Regions from separate parts of the Homo sapiens genome. Here regions 1, 2 and 4 are each linked to region 3. The links are contacts of gene promoters, found by promoter capture Hi-C in human tissues and cell types (Jung and others, 2019). All regions are on one chromosome and are shown on one strand. The core of a region is centred on a gene start or on the middle of the fragment in contact, and the rest is flanking DNA. Distances in the headings are between cores, read along the strand shown.

The links. Contacts are between HindIII fragments. The study calls those that stand out against the background at their distance.
Region 1: a contact is called between a fragment that was not itself captured here and the fragment with the promoter of SP140L in region 3, in 1 of the 25 tissues and cell types used here (lymphoblastoid cells).
Region 2: a contact is called between a fragment that was not itself captured here and the fragment with the promoter of SP140L in region 3, in 3 of the 25 tissues and cell types used here (dorsolateral prefrontal cortex, mesenchymal stem cells and thymus).
Region 4: a fragment that was not itself captured here is called in contact with the fragment with the promoter of SP140L in region 3 in 2 of the 25 tissues and cell types used here (mesenchymal stem cells and thymus).

What each region holds. Positions count from the first base shown.
Region 1 is chr2:230,557,284-230,559,983 of GRCh38, forward strand. No RefSeq gene overlaps it. Among named protein-coding and RNA genes, the nearest start is that of LINC01907, 140 kb to the right of the region's middle. The HindIII fragment of the contact is 4,770 bases long and covers 1-2,700 here.
Region 2 is chr2:230,458,540-230,461,239 of GRCh38, forward strand. The region is part of intron 8 of SP100 (SP100 nuclear antigen); the gene reads left to right. The region is part of intron 3 of LOC101928816 (a long non-coding RNA gene); the gene reads right to left. Among named protein-coding and RNA genes, the nearest start is that of SP100, 44 kb to the left of the region's middle. The HindIII fragment of the contact is 6,659 bases long and covers 1-2,700 here.
Region 3 is chr2:230,325,851-230,328,550 of GRCh38, forward strand. It overlaps SP140L (SP140 nuclear body protein like), which reads left to right and starts at 1,343. Exons shown (of 19, transcript NM_138402.6): 1 at 1,343-1,451. The coding sequence starts at 1,420. RefSeq lists an enhancer at 1,017-1,486. The HindIII fragment of the contact is 8,396 bases long and covers 1-2,700 here.
Region 4 is chr2:230,158,367-230,161,066 of GRCh38, forward strand. No RefSeq gene overlaps it. Among named protein-coding and RNA genes, the nearest start is that of SP110, 60 kb to the right of the region's middle. RefSeq lists a silencer at 1,960-2,029. The HindIII fragment of the contact is 3,967 bases long and covers 1-2,700 here.

The DNA of each region.
Region 1 (2,700 bases), core at 192-2,691, 230 kb after region 3:
CCCCCAGTGGATACTTCAGAGGTGGCCAAGAAGGAAATTGAAAGAGAAAATGAAAAAAAAAAAAAAATAGAGGGCACGGTCAGGAGAATTATTTCAAAAGAGCAGAATCAAAGTCAAGAAATTTCCAAATTCCTCCACTGCTAGAGGAGAGGGACCCCTTTAATCACAGCCTGGTAGATTTAGATAATAGACCATTGGCCACTGTTTGTCTCCCATTTTTCCACTTCCTAGATAGTAGTTGTATTGGGATTACTCTGTCACTCATCAAACATTGTATATTGGAAGTACAGTAAGGGAAGACAAACTTATTAAAAGGTCACCAAAACATCAAGAACATCATCCAGACCTGATAGGGAGAACTGTACTTCACACAAAGTAAGTGGATATTGGCCTGTGTGCAGTAATTATATGGGAGTTTGTGTTATCTCCTGTAAGGGAGGGGCAGGAAGAAAGAGGGTAAGGGGTTCTATATGTGGGAAGATCGGAAGAAGGGTGATACTTGAGGACAAGATAGAAAGTGTATAGGAGAGACAGCTAGCTGCTTACCCAAACTGTATTTTCCTCTTCTTCCAGGGCACACAGTTAAACTATATTTTCCAGGAATTCCTGCAGGTATGAGTGGCCTATGACCGAGTTCTAGATAGAGGAACATCTGAGGAAGACATGTGCCTAGTTCCAAGGCTGACCCATAAAAGCTTCTTACACGTACTGCCCCACAATCTTTCCTCTGCCATGAACTGGATGGCAGTCTCCAAGTAAGGACACCCTTGGAAGCCATGAGTGTCAAAACCTCCATCAGTCTGAGACCATGCATAATTACATGGAAGAGAGCCCCCAACAACCCAACAACCCTCCCATCTCACCAACTTGTAACTCATTAGACTGTTTTAAAAGAAATAAACTTAAATTTTGTTTGAGGATGTTATATATATTGGGGTCTATTTGTTAGAGCAGATAGCCTAATTTAACTACTACAAAGCAAGCTAACTACTACTATTACATGAATCTTCCAAAATCAAAAGGAATTATTTTCTATTTGTAACATATGCAGCAAACAATTAGAATAATTCTTTTGTAAAGAAAAATATGTTTATATGAATATTAAGAGTTTTATTGGCTTTTCTGTTTTCCAAGTGGCTTTTCCCAAAGTATATTTACTTCTAATATCTATAAGATTTATAAAATGGCAGGAGAAATCTAAAATAGGAATGTGTAAAGTCCTTATGTTGTCTAGAAAATGGTAAGAGTATTAATGTTTACTAGGCATTGATAAACCAAAAATGACTATAATAATGTAATTTTAATGTAATCCAATAAAGAAGTAAGAAGAAGAAAAGGAACATAAAACAGGTAAGACAAATAGAAAACAAGCAGGAAGATGGTAGATTTAAACCTAAATATATCAGTAGTTACATGGAAAGTAAATGAAACAATTTCTCCAATTAAAAGCCAAACATAGCCCAGGCACAGTGGCTCATGCCTGTAATCCCAGCACTTTGGGAGGCTGAGGCAGGTGGATCATGAGGTCAGGAGTTCGAGACCAGCCCGGCCAATATGGTGAGACCCCCATCTCTACTAAAAATACAAAAAAATTAGGTAGGCATGGTGGCGTGTGCCTGTAGTCCCAACTACTCGGGAGGTCAAGGCATGAGAATTGCTTGAACCCAGGAGGTGGAGGTTGCAGTGAGCCGAGATCATGCCACTGCACTCCAGCCTGGGTGACAGAGCAAGACTCCGTCTCAAAAACAGACAAAAAAAAGGCAAACATTGTCATACTGGATTAAAGAAAACCTATAGGCTGCTTGCAAGAGACATGATTGAATATACGAAGATATATAAGTTAAAAATAAAAAGATGGAATAAGATATGCAAACACTAAGTCGTCTCAAAAAAATATAAAGCCGGTGAATGGTATCAGAACATATCACCCCATAATATGCCACTTTGCCATGTTGATTATTTTGAGCTGAAGGCAATTGAGAAACAGCAGATGCAGAAAGGGGTCTCTTTCTTACACCTTTATGCCTAAGAAAAGTGCCATCCCTGTACCAGGAATAGAACATTCTTATCACCAGAGTCAAGGAGTTGAAGCCATGATGAATCTGTACAAACAAACCTCACTAAAATAACCCTTATCTCCCATTAGTTTTCTCCATATATTTCTTAGTCACTTTCCCATAATTTACCACTCTTAGCCCAAATCCTTTTTTCCTTTGTATTGTTACATCTCCACAAGTTATTGCTCTGTGTTAAAATAGTATATAAGCCTCCAGTCAATTCATTTATTTGGGGTTTTTATTTCTTGCTATGATGTTTCCTTTGCCATGTAAAAATACTAATATTAAATAAAATTTCTGTGCTTTTTCTCCTGTTAATCTGTCTTTTGTCAGTTTAATTTATAGGTCCCAGGCATTAAACCTAAGAGAGTAAAGAAAAAAAAATTTTTTCTACACTGGTGTAGACTTTTAAGCAAAAAACACCATTAGGGATAAAGAGGGACGTTACACAATGATAAGAAATTCAACACACACAAAAGATAATTCTACATTTATTGGTACCTAACAGAAAAGCCACAAAATATATAAAGCAAAGATTGACAAGATTAAAAGGAGAAATAGACAAATCCACTACCAAAGTAGAAGCTTGTAACTCACCTCAGTCGCTGATGGCACAAGCAAAAAATCAGTAAGGATGTAGAAA
Region 2 (2,700 bases), core at 68-2,567, 130 kb after region 3:
TGGTATCCATACATTGTCATGTTGTGGAGTTGTTGAATAGAAATATGTTGCAAGTTACTTTTCAGAAGTTATCATGAAAACGTAGAAATTATGCATGATGCTGCTTGTCAGATTTGCAAAGGAAGGAAGCCCAGGTGAAAGACCTTCAGGAAGGAATGGCAAGTGGAGGGCCTCTGGTGTGGTAGACAATGGCACTGGAAGAGACCTTTCGTAATGATGGGAATGTTTGAGATGAGGAAGATATAGAAAGACAAAAAGTGATATAGCACTCACACATCAGATGCGAAAGTATTTTTGAAAAAAAAGTGACATAGAAGAAGCTTGCAGAGGTAACGTTAATAATTAAGAAATAAGGGCCGACTCAAAGCAGGTAGGAAATGTAACAGAGATGCAACATTACATATGGGACAACAGGCCTGGCACGAGGTGAGGCAGGGAGGCCCCCAGGGCACAGCATGTAAGGAGACCTCACTTGGCATGTGAGACTGAGCTTCCTTAAATTTCAAGGCACCCCATAGCACCACCTTCACCTCACCCTGGTTCTGTCTCTAAGAGACAATAATTTTTAAAAAGTGTAGATAAAAAGACTATGAATAGAAAAAACATAGAGGGAAATAAATACCAAGAAATAGGAAAAATGGAGGGAGGCACAAAGAGAAGTATGCAGAAAATGAGTTAAAGGACAATGAATGAAAAATTGGTAGAGAGTGGATCATGCAAAGAAGGGAAGAGAGAAGACAAATCAAGACATTCTCTGATCTGAGGAGATAAGAGCTAGAAAGGAGGCACAGGGTGTCCTATTACTATGGAGAAAGATCAGCTGCCCTCTTATCAAAATGGCCCCTGTGACTCCACCTCCACCCCCAGATTACAATAAGCCTCTCCTCAGGCATCACTTCCTCTCCATGGCTCAATCACCATCTAAGATCTGTTGATTTCTAAACATACATCTCCAGCTCAGACCTGTCCTGTTGACTCCCTTCCCCAATTGCCTGAAGACCTTTATTTAAAGACCTGAAGAACATCTCTCTTTGGAAGCTGCATCTGTCATCTATTGCTGTGTCATGTAACAAACTATCCTGAAACTTAGTGGCTTAAAACAATCATCATTTCATTTGCCACTTGTGTCAATCCCAACTTTAAAATATCTCTAACTTGTCCATTTCTCTTCATCCCCAGCACGAACACCCTAATCTAGACCCCTGTCACTCTCACTAAAATTAGAGGAACAGTCTCCTGTCTGGCCCCCAGTCTTGCTCCTCTCAAGTCTGCACTTCAGTTGAATGGACTTTTCCAAAATAGAAACCAGTTGATATGACTTTCCTGTTTGAAACCCAGTGCCTTCGTGTGGCCCTTAGCAGTAGATCAACACTGCTTGGAGTGGTGAATTGAAGGATGTCTACCACGCACCTGCGCGTTCCCCGTCACCCACCTCTCGCCCTTTCATGCCACATTCCCACCACACTAAGCTTCCTTTACTTACTGGAATTTGCCAAGCTCTCTTTCTTTCATCTCTGCCTTTATATATGCTTTTGGGAAAACAGTTTGGGGTAATCTTCCAAAGGTGAAAATATACATACCCTATAACCCAACAATTATATTCCTCAGCAGAAACCAACAGAAATGTGTGTTATGTCACCAAAACACATAGAAAAGAATGCTCAAGGCAGCATTATTCATAGAAGCCAAATGCTTGAAATTGTACAAATGAATAAATAATTCATGGCTTATTTCTATAATGGAATACTATCTAGTAGTGAAAATAATTATACAAAACGAATACAGATGACTTTCACAAGCATGTTGAGTAAAATATCCATACAATTTTGGGGGATTTGGCTTCTTTTGGGAGATCTATATATATTGAGAGAGAGGTAAAGGGAGAAAGAAAGAGTGGAGAGAAAAGAGATTATTCCATTTTTATAAATTACACAACAAGCAAAATTAACCTTAGTGTTGGAAACCTCAATGGTAGTTGTCTTTGAGCAAGTTAGTGGAAACAGTTAATGGGAAGTGTCACCAGGAGGTGTCTGGGGTATTGGTAATCTGTTTCTTTTTTTTTTTTTTTTTTTTTTTTTTTTTTTTTTTTTTTTTTGAGACGGAGTCTCGCTCTGTCGCCCAGGCCGGACTGCGGACTGCAGTGGCGCAATCTCGGCTCACTGCAAGCTCCGCTTCCCGGGTTCACGCCATTCTCCTGCCTCAGCCTCCCGAGTAGCTGGGACTACAGGCGCCCGCCACCGCGCCCGGCTAATTTTTTGTATTTTTAGTAGAGACGGGGTTTCACCTTGTTAGCCAGGATGGTCTCGATCTCCTGACCTCATGATCCACCCGCCTCGGCCTCCCAAAGTGCTGGGATTACAGGCGTGAGCCACCGCGCCCGGCCGGTAATCTGTTTCTTGATCAAAGTGATTTACTTCCTTCGTGATCATTCAAAACCCACTTTTATTCATGTGTCTTATACTGCAATTATAATTTTTATTTTTTTTAAAAAGCAAAATATTAACCATCAAAGAATGAGACGAGTAGGTAAAGGGAAAGGTAAAAAACAAAACAGAGCCAAGAGAGGCACAAAGGAAGGGACAGAGTTGAGCAAAAGGAAAAACACGGAGGTGGGGTGAAGGTCTAGCCCCAGCAGTGAAATTGCAGAGAGGGGGAGTTATTAATGATAGTGAAGGAGGTTCACTGGGGACACAAATGAAA
Region 3 (2,700 bases), core at 93-2,592:
GTGCAATAAACAGCAAAAAAAAAAAAAGTCCTTGAACCAAAATTGTCCTTAGCTGCTCTGCCCTCTAAGATGGGGCATAGTTTACATGGGAGTTGGGGGAGGACTCCATGTTTGCCCCTTCCCCTTGCTGAGATGGCTGGGGGTGGGGGCTGGAAAAAGTTGGATTCAGCAGAATGTAATTTGGAAAACATGGCTCTGGAGCACCATCCCCTCTGGCCCCTGAATCCTCACCAGCTTCCACCCTCTGCTCACCTTGGGCCCTGGATTCCAGCGCCCCCAGGCTCCCAGCTGCCTCCCTGTCTCTGCCCCATGGTCCAGCCTGGAGTTCTGGTCCCTGGTTGTGTCCTGTGGCCCCATTCTCATGCGCCCTTTGCTTCTATTTCTTTACCTATGACTTTATACTGATGTAAAGCGAGTCTTCTCGGTCGCTTCTTGTTCTCTGAGGAATGTTGAATCAGAATCTAAATGGAAAATCTGGGAAGAGATAGAACCTCCCGCGGGAGCCACCCTGCCCTTCCATGTCTAGATCATCTGGGTTCCAACCTCCATCCTCCTCCAATGAGAAGCTTTTGTTCTCTCAAGATTCCAGTGACTTCTCCGAAGCTCTCTTCATCCCTGGCTGTTCCAAGGTGGCCCCATAGTCAAGATTCCTTAAACCCTTGCCCCTTAAAATGTTTGCCTTTCTTACCATGCTGGCTCCAGCCTCTGGTCCCAGGGGTGTGGAGAGTTCTCTCTTACTTCTGGCTGATTTCCAGGAAGGCTAAGAACACTCTCCCCAGGTTATAATGCTGAGCATTTTGGTTCTCTCCAGCCCTGGGTCCCCATGTCAGGACCTACCTTAGTCCAGTCCATGCTCTCCCATGGGCCTGAGAGAAGATTTGAAGTTTCTGGCTTTCCCTCCAACCCTCCAACTCTCACCCCCAGCCATTTCAGCAAGGGGAAGGGGCAAACATGGAGTTTTCCCCCCAACTCCCATGTAAACTATGCCCCCTCTTAAGAGGGCAGAGCAGCTAAGGACTATTTTGGTTCAAGGACATTTTTTTTTTTTTTGCTGTCCATTGCACAAGCAAGTGGACTCCCGGAAGCCAGCCCTGCTCGTCCTCTGGGCCCTCCTTTCCCTGGTCCTGCAGGTCTTGCTGCTTGTCAGGCCTCTCCTCCAACCGTCTGCCACATTTCAGAAAAGCTGAGAACCCCTTGGAGTGAAAAAGGAGGAGAAACACGGTGTCTGTATCCCAGCAGGAAGTTAAATAAATACTTTCACTTTTCTTTTCCCCATTTGGGCAGAAATCTGTGAGGGTGAGTCAGTCTGTCGGCCGACTTCCTGCTCCGGGTCAGGGCAGCCACACTGCACGCAGGCTGGGCCGACTGGGGAGCTCATAGGCCAGGCTCTGACACCCAGGCAGGGCCTAGGGTGGGACGATGGCAGGTGGGGGCAGCGACCTGAGCACCAGGTGAGTCTTTATCTCTCTTCCTTTCACCTTTATCTCTGGCAGTATTGGAGCTTTCATGCCTGTAGTTCAGTTTCTGTCTAAAGCTTCAGTTTAGTCCTGCTTTGCAAGAACATAGGTAGGTAGTGTAATATAATGGAATAAAAGAGAATGTAATAAGGAAATCAGATTTTTACAACTGCAGCAGGACAGCTGTTTGTGTGAGTCCAGCTTGCCATAACACAGATGACTTTTCTTGTTTTGAAACTACTGCTCAGCTGGCGGGGACACTCTGAACAGTCGTTTCAGTCATTTGTGACTGAGAGTTATTATTTCCTCATGAGAATGAGGAACACAAATTATATGTTTGTGTTTCAACAAACATTTCCTCATGATCTCCCAACCCTTTCACATCCCTCTGCCCTCTCTACCTTCACATATGTCATGTCAAAGAAGGTAGTTTGGAAATAGACACTCCAGGGTAAACAGCTGGCTTACTTTTAAACATTGGAAACTGTGGTTTCACCTGTCTTGGCAAGGGGCCTCAGTCAGCTTTGGGGCTATTTCCTTGACTGACTCAGGGTGTGAGTTCTGATACAATTGACCTTGATCCAAAGAAGGAAAAAGAAGAAAAAGGCCCAGGATGGCAGAAAGCTAAATATTTTTATTTTTACTTCAATTTCCTGTCCCAAGATGGGGGATGCCTCTGACCAGAAAAGAGATGGAAATCCTATCTTTTCTCTAGTAACGAGTTTATAAATAACATTACGTAATCTTTTTATTTTATTTCATTTTTTTGAGACAGGGTCTCACTCTGTCAACCAGGCTGGAGTGCAGTGGCACAATCCCGGCTCACTGCAACCTCTGTCTCCTGGGTTCAAGCGATTTTAATCTTTTAAATTTTTTAATACAAAAGAAATACATTACATTCTTACTCATAAAATTTCAAACAGTGGAGAAGTGTATAAACGAAAAAGTCTTCTTCACCACTCACTTCGCCTTGTAGCTTCCTTTCACAGTCTTGTGAAGAGTCTTCGGCATAACTTTTCTCATATTTTTCGATGCATTTACGTGTATGAAGTATGTTTTTGTAAACATATAATTTGTGTTCTCGTTTTGTAATAAATGGAATTACATTGTGCGTGCTATTCTGCATTTTGCATTTCTACTCATTTTAATGGTGGAAATCTTAGAGATCTTTTCACCTTAATGCATATAGATCTACCTCACTCTTTTTACATATACTATTCCATAGAATTTACATAGCATAATT
Region 4 (2,700 bases), core at 201-2,700, 170 kb before region 3:
CTGGGGACCTGTTAATATTCTTAACTGCTCCCCTGCATTTCACAGCTGCCTGTATCCAAATACAATGGGGCCACCTGACAGCACACCTCAGGGTGACTTCATGTTCAAATATAATATCAACCCAATATCCAATAAAAAGCTTCAAAAATCATGCCAACATCTTAAGTCCCTCAAGGCGGTGTCAAAGCAGGAGCCAATCCATGACCTACCGAGAGAGGAGAAAGGAAGAAGCCAGTCAGGCAGGCAGTTAGGGTGGGCCCTCAGTTAAATTCTTTCAAACAAAAGAACAGCCAACTTGCACAGAGGGGCTTGCCTAAGACACGCCCACAGCCACATAGATAAGAAAAGCTACACAGGTGACTCACCCAGACACGCCTGCAGTGGAAAGTTCTGTCCCGTAACACATGTACAGTAAGGGGAACAAAGCAATATGGAGTCACTAAGCTAAGGGCCCACATGCACACTTGGAGGATGGGGTGGAGCTAACAGAAATTTGTGTCTTATGCAAATGAGATGCCCAGCCCTCATCAGTTTCTTATAAAAGCCTTTGCATTCAACTGTAAAGACAGCAACCCTCTTCTGGGCCCCCTCTCCATGGCAGAAAGCTTTCTTCTTTTGCTTAGAAAACTTTTGCTCCAATCTCACCTTTTGTGTCCACACTCCTTAATTCTCTGGGTCATGAGACAAAGAACTCCAGGTAATACGTCACAACGAGAGACTGCTACGTCGTGGTGCATTGGTGAGACTTTAACACTAAAAGAGAATACCGTGTGGGCCACCTCCACTCATCCATCTCTCTCTGAAGTTCTCATGACCATGGCTCAATATTAATCTCCTCCCTCCATCCACATGCTTGCTCCCTGCACCCCCAAATCTCATCTGCCCAGCTGCTTTTTTATTTAGTTCCCTTCTCAGTTTAGTTTTTTCTTCTGCAGTTGGCTTCACATTCTATTCTTATTACTGTTTCTGAAAGCTGTTAATAAATAAACAATTAAACTACAAAACATTACAATTAAACAAACCAAGCAATCAACCAAACAATAAACTCTCGGTTGTCACCTCACAGGACAAGGACAGCTCTTGTGATTAAGTTGCAGGCTCTACTGCTGCCCACACCACAGATACCTTAGTTAGATTTGCTCCTTTGTCAAATGTTTAAGTCAGATAAAGGACCAGTCGTAGGGCAGTGGATCTCAAACCTAATTGTGGCAAAACAAAACAAAACAAACAAACAAAAATCACCTAGAAAACTTGTTCAACTGGTTAAAAACACAGATTCCTGGGCCTGAATCCTAGAGATTCCCACCCAGAGCCAACATCCCAGAATCTGCATTTTAGGCAAGCTCCCTGTGATTCTGAAGCAGCGGGCCATAGGCAATTCATTGGGAAGCGGTCAGTGTCCAGATATCTCAGAGGACCCCTCTCTAAGCACTCTTGATTGGTCCCAAAGACCCCCCTTCCCCCAGTAGGCTGGCTTCTTCACCCTGTCCTCATCCTCTAGCATCCCCGAGAGGAGGTCACCTGGGACATTCTTGCAAATGGGAGGATCTAGAATCCAGGTCTCTGCCTGCTGCCGGCCATCCCCAGGCGGGCCTCCTACCAGATTCCAATCTATGAAACGAAAAACTGGGGATCCTTTTCCAGCCCACGTTACTGAGTGCATCTCAGTTGTTTCATTATGCTAGCTGTGAGGTTTTGCACTTGTGACAAACAACAGAAGGGACCTTTTGTCACAGTAAGGAAATCCTCGCAAGCATGTGCCTAAACGTGACTGCCTGCTGCTTCGTCTTTGCCAGTCTCATCTGGAGAGGACCTGGCGCATGCTCTTGGTTGGTTTTCCTCCATCTGCATGAAATAGGAGCCACTGAGAGCATCTTCCTCCCCTTCAAAGCCTTCACTACTTCTTTCTGCTAGTTCCTTGTCCTTGCAGGAGCTTTAATAGCTCAATTCCTTTCCGTCTCTGGAGGGGCCCACAGTGCCCTCTGGTGGTTGAACAGCATGCTACACTTTTTTTTTTTTTTTTTTTTTTGTGGGGTAGGGAGAGGGTGGACAGAGTCTCCTGTCGCCCAGGCAGGAGTGCAGTGGTGCAATCTCGGCTCACTGCAACCTCCGCCACCCCGCCACAGGCTCAAGCGATTCCCTTGCCTCAGCCTCCCAAGTAGCTGGGATTACAGGTGTACACCACCACACTGGGCTAATTTCTGTATTCTTAGTAGAGTTTCACCATCTTGGCCAGGCTGGTCTTGAACTCCTAGCCTCAAGTGATCCACCCGCCTCCTCCCAAAGTGCTGAGATTACAGGCTTGAGCCACCGTGCCTGGCCTATGGCACACTTTTGTAGAAGTCCAGGGTGCCTGCTGCTCTCAGGGCTAGGTCCTGTGCCCATCCTGGGAGAATGGGAAAGCCTCTGTATGCATTCTGCTCTGCCTGAGCCCTCCACAGAGCCAGAACCAGGCCTAGGGGTTCAAGGGTAAACTTCTTTGAGGAACTGGAAACTGAGATGATGATGAGATTAGGGATTGGCTATGAATACAAACTGGGTCATGGTCCAGATACAGAAACATCAAAATCTGACCTGTGGGCTCTGTCTGGGAAAATTTAGGGCAAATTGGCACTTGTAGGTGGCAAGGAGTGGCTTGTTTACCCTGCCCTCCTCACTGTCCCTTGTTTGGACCAATTCTGCCTTCTTAGGAGGACATGA